Regions from separate parts of the Homo sapiens genome. Here region 2 is linked to region 1. Evidence: promoter capture Hi-C in 16 types of primary human blood cells and fetal thymus (Javierre and others, 2016). All regions are on one chromosome and are shown on one strand. Each heading gives the region's core, a stretch centred on a gene start or on the middle of the fragment in contact. The rest is flanking DNA. Distances are from core to core; before and after follow the strand shown.

Region 1 (2,714 bases), core at 151-2,650:
GCCATCAACAAATGAACAACAAAACAGAACTTGAATTCAGAATTTTAGATCCAGCTCCATTCACAAGGCTATGCATTAACTGCAGTCACCATCCTTTCCCACAAGACCATCAAGCTCTGAAGCATTAGGAGAAACATTTTCTTTATGTACACTAAAATAAGCCCAAATACACAGATAACAGCACAAAGCCGGTCCGGCGTTTCTTGGCCATCAAAGCATGCACAGACTTTCTCAGTACAGCCTTAAGTGTAATTCCTAGAAGGCACTGGCAAATCTCTGCCAGGCCAATCTGCAGTCGAAAACCGAGTGCATGTGTCCAACAAGATGACAGGAGGGTCAATGTTTCTAACCGTCTACTTCAACTCTGCATGGCAATAGCGGTTCTGCCCAACATGGTAAACACAATAATCGTATAGGATCGAACACAAGTCTCTGTAAATGAGGATCCCCTTAAACGCAAACAAGCAACTCTGGGGAAATATAATTTCTGGAACAAAACATGGTGCTCGCATAATTCCACAAAGACACATAGAAGTCCATTTTTAAAATGATGTTCGGTCCCAGCACTGTGCTGACACTTTTCCCACCTAAACTTCTCAGCACAAGCCTGGCCTAAACAGCCGGGTTCCAATCCGTGCACAGTGGAACCGCGGCACGCACCCAAGACCGGAATGGTGGGGCTATACCTGTCCCTACTCAGTCCTGTTCGTGCCAGCCTGCGAGGTAGTTTAGACCCGTCTGCTTTATGGTAATGTGCTTTTAAAACCCCGCCACGACCGAGGTCATAGCTTTAGAGATTTAATAACAATCAAATGACCAGGGCTGCTGGGCACTTAGTGAGCCATTCTGGTTATGGCTCTTTAATAGCACCTGGAGTTCTGCTCCAGGGAGAGAGGAAAACTCCTGCTCCCCCGGAAAGAAAGTCCTCTGCGGAGAGCGCAGAGGGAAGCCAGGAAGCCGATCGCGGGCAGGGGACGCGCCGCCGCGGCCGCCCCATCTCTCAAGCAGCCCCAGCGCGACCCTCGCCCTGCAGCCGTGCTGGCCCAGGCCGCACCTTTACCTGTCAGCTCCACCACCCACCCGCCCTGGAGGCTGCCCCTCCGAGTCCAGGGAAAGGCTTACCAGCCGGCTGCGGGAGAAAGAACCCCAGAGGCATCCTATCCCAAAGAAAGAAAGCAAAAAGGCTGCTCCTCAAGGCAGGGGGCCATCGGGCACGCCGAGATCCGAGAGGCGACATGCCACCCCTGCCCTGCACCTACCAGATAATCCATGTACAGAAACGCCTCAGTTATTCGGAGATCAGACATCCGGCAGCCTAAAGCATCCGGAACGGCTCCGAACCCGGAAAAAAAAAGCAGCGTCTCTGGCTGCGAGCGAGCAGCTCCTGAAAAAGCCAGCAACAGCGAAAATAGCCGAAAGCAGCCGACTAGCCGGAGATTACACAAGGGGCGCGGCGATTGGCCAGGCGGGCGGGCAGAAGGAAAGAAGCGTGCTCATTGGCTGCGGCGCCTATAAAAGGCAGGCCCCAGCTGGTGGCAGGAGAGAAACGCGGGAGTGGTGGGGGATGTGGGTTCCTGTGTGCTGAGCGGAGGAGCCGGGGTGGGGGCGGTGCAAGCGGAAGAAAGAGCCAAGAGAGCGGAAAATCGGCTGGTGCTGTCGCCGCCCGAGTTTTGTGTTTCCACAGCTTTCCAGTTGGGTACAACGGAGCCGAACTCCGTGTTCCCGGGCTGGAGAGCCTTGGTGTCCCCGCCAACCCCCAGTAGGAAGCGAGCGCTGTAACATGGGAGGCGTGGTCGCCACTGATCTTGTCTCCCCCCAGAGCCTTCCTAAAGGCTCTGCCGCCACGAGACTGCACCACCGGGAAAGAAGTGTGTGAAAGTGTACTCCGTAAACAGGCAATCCTGTACGCGACTTAGGGGCAGAAAGACCCTCCGCACTTTTATCATTTGAAAGTAAGGTGGACGATTCCAGCCTGGTGTCCCTGAGGGTACACACAGGCCCCCCGCGCAGCCAGAGGTGACTCAGGAACCCCCCTTCCAACCCCTGCGTAGAACGCCGAACAGTCTTCGGAGAATTCGCTTTCCTCCACGTGAAAAGGAAAAGAAAAACATTTGAGGAGTCGCAGTAGTCACTTGTACTCCCCAAACACACGGGAAGAAGTTGATCAGTTTGCATGCTTGGAGTCAAATTACGCTCAGCACAAATCCAACGCCCCTGAATTAAATGAGCAGTAGAAGCTCTCTGCAAAAAACACAACAGTATTTGTGACCCGGTATTATTTCAGGAGGTAAAAACATCTATAAGCAGATGCATTTGGGACGTATGCATTTCCTGGTAATGTCAATATCGCATTAAGCTAGTGGGTTTGGGCAGGGAAAGCCTGAATCGGACAAGAAGCTGGCTTTTTTTTTTTTTAGGCTATAAATAACCAGACCATGCCAGACACATGTTCTTAGGCTATGTTCTTAGGCTCAGGTGATTGGAGTGCCCCCCCCCCCATCCCCACCCTCAGGGCTTAGGGAGAATGGAAGATAAGGTGGATGCTGTCACCTGTATTAATAGTTAGGGCTTGCATACATACAGTAAAGTTTCAAGAGTGAAACTTCATCGACTGAACTCTTTATGAAGTGACTGCCTGACTCTACACGCGATGTTTTAGGAGTTGAATTTTTACTTTCCCCCTGACACCTTTCTTTTTTGTATCCTCAAGAAAC
Region 2 (2,700 bases), core at 12-2,511, 1.2 Mb before region 1:
TGCTGATTTGTATATTGATACAAAATTAACAACTAATAAAAAACAACAAAAAGTTTTCTGGTAAGATTATAGATTCTGAAATCCCAGAAATCTCCATAATGAGAACTATTTTAGGCAATTTAAAAAAAAAGAAAATACTCTTTTTAAACTTTTGAAATCATGGGTTTTAGTTTATTATTTTTAATATATTTCTGAAAATGTATAATATCAAGACTGTCTGATAATGCTTTTTTAATACTTTCCAGTTCTGCCAACATTCCTGTCATGCATCCTTAATAACAATGCTCTCCCAGAACCGGGATGGGGGGCGGTGAGGTGGGGTTGGTGGGGGAGTACGTTTCTGAGCTAGTTAAAGTCACTGAGGAGGGCCCATACCTCAATGTGTGTTGAGTTACAATTAGAAATTAGTCATGGAAGGACATGTCTACCACAGATATCTTTCCTCACATTTAAATTATTCCATTTCTTCCTACAGTCCTCCTTCTATCTTTAGTTCCATTTTAAATAACCCTTCATCCTACATACCCATTTATCTTGCTTCCTTTTTCTCCCTTTTGTCCCACTAGTATAAGAGATTGTGCTTCAGTAAACTATCCTGATGTGGAGAGAAAAAAATCAAAATGTGATCAATAATAATAGTTTAACAAAGTTAAGATTGCATGCTCTAAAAACATAAGTGATTAACTGTTGGATGCCCAAAAGCACTCTTTGTTTCCTTTCCAAGTTGATGACTCTTCGTATATTTCCTAAAAAACAAAATCATAACAGGTATTAAAAATAGACCATTCTACTATACGAATATAAAATATATTTGAATAAATCAGACAAATGAATATCACATCTATTTCAATGGCTCCTCTTTTAACAATCATGACGAGAGACATCATGGGCAAGGTTACATAGGGGAAGACAGAAAGTCTTTAGTTTTAAACATTTTTTTTTCTTTCCAAACATACCTACTACTTCAACATTTCTAAATATGCTTTTCCAAAGGCAGATATCTTCATTAGCTGTTGAATTAAGTGGTCACCTCTCAGAAGTTCCTAAACAAGTTTGAGCTGCCCTCTGGTATGAGCTGTTCTTTGACATATGCACTCTACCTACCTGCCACCCTTCCCTATATCACAGATGATCTCAAAGCACAGGCCGAGACTAGAACCAGACTAGAAGTTACATAGTTTGTGGAAAGGAGGGGTAAGGAGAACATATCACTTTCTCTTCTCACTCTCTAGTCACATTCCATTTCTGTAGGGAGAGGAATTCAAATTCAACTGTCCTCTGAACTCCTGCACTTCCTCGGACTCTCTATGGACAAACAAAAGCAAAATACGAAGCCCAACTAGTCCTCAAAGCATGAAAACAAGAATATGCCCCAACTCCTGCTCATTACCTGTATTTCTGGGGTTGCTCCCATCTACTTTCTGTCCACTGACTGTGCACCCTTTCCTCCCTGGTGAAGAAAGCTACCCCTGCCTTCCAGGCTTGCAGCTGATCTTAGAATGCTCTTCCTACCTCTCGCTCTCTGGGGGCCTGCCTCCTGTTGTGTCAGCCTTGTTCACAGCAAGGGAACAATATATCTGAGCTTCACTAAGTTTCCTTTCACACATATTCTATCCTCTAATCCCTACGTATTCTAACAATGGGCTTCAATTTTATTCTGAAAACATGGTCATCAAATTTCCCAGGCCCTGGTTATGAGTCCAACTTGCTTATTTCTACCACTGACTGAGGCAGGTCCCCTGGGAAGGAGGGGAGAAGTGCCCTTTAAAAGCCCTGGCTCTCTGCTCTGGTCTTTTCATCTACTGAGCTGTTCATTAACTCCTCAGCTTTCTGTCAACCACAACGCTGTAGGCAATTCTAGACAATTCTAGACATTGAATGTGCAACCACAGAACAATCCCACTGTTAATGTTACTACACCAGGGGAGAAACTAGGGAGTTGGGCCTTTTCATCCCATCAGAATGCTCTATTTAACCAGAGAATTACTTGCCCTTATTGACAGAAAACATGCCAGAAGTTCCTATTTCTGTTTTTAAATCCACTCACTGCATTTTCTCAGAGGGAGCAATATCTCACCATTTTTTTTTCTTCCCTAAAAAGGACCTCTAGGAAAAGCCTCTTTCACTTTAAAGAATTTCTATTTTAGCCATTACCTAAATAGCTAATGCATTATTCTCACTCTCCAACAGAAAGACCCTCTAATTCAAGGGAATTATAATCCAAGGAAAATAACTTCATGTATGAACCCCTCCAACAGTCCAGACTAGGAATTCTCACTGTTATCACTCATTGAGGCTTACTGTGTGCCATGCATTCTTTGGGGCACATATTTTTCATGCTTAACAAATCTTGGAAAGAAGATATTTCACAGATAAAGAAAACAAGATACTACAGTCAGTAAAAAGTCCATAAATATGGGGGGATTTATCTAAAAATTCCTGAGAAAAATCAGGTCCACATGCTAAAATGTGTTATTTTCTTAACTTACCTTTTTCCATATGGGCACCTTGGCTTTTAAAGTATCAATGGCATAGCTCACAGCTTCAAGAGATGCAGCTCTGTGGGCTGAGGACACAGCAATGATTATGCTTGCTTCTGACACTGGAACCAAGCTTTAACAAGATGAAGAGAAAAAAAAATCACCATCATCTCTGAATCTACGTGTTAAAGAATCTGCTAGACAGATGAAAAAAAATCCA

What was found. Contacts are between HindIII fragments. The CHiCAGO score rates a contact against its expected background, and 5 or more counts as called.
Region 2: a fragment that was not itself captured here is called in contact with the fragment with the promoter of ARL15 in region 1 in 1 of 17 cell types (total CD4 T cells); the score reaches 6.1 in total CD4 T cells.

Annotation. Positions count from the first base shown.
Region 1 is chr5:54,309,173-54,311,886 of GRCh38, forward strand. It overlaps ARL15 (ARF like GTPase 15), which reads right to left and starts at 1,401. Exons shown (of 5, transcript NM_019087.3): 1 at 1,260-1,401. The coding sequence starts at 1,307. The HindIII fragment of the contact is 4,353 bases long and covers 1-2,714 here.
Region 2 is chr5:53,097,922-53,100,621 of GRCh38, forward strand. It overlaps MOCS2 (molybdenum cofactor synthesis 2), which reads right to left. Exons shown (of 7, transcript NM_004531.5): 6 at 2,490-2,613; 7 at 1-746. The coding sequence ends at 681. Among named protein-coding and RNA genes, the nearest start is that of MOCS2, 10 kb to the right of the region's middle. The HindIII fragment of the contact is 2,699 bases long and covers 1-2,611 here.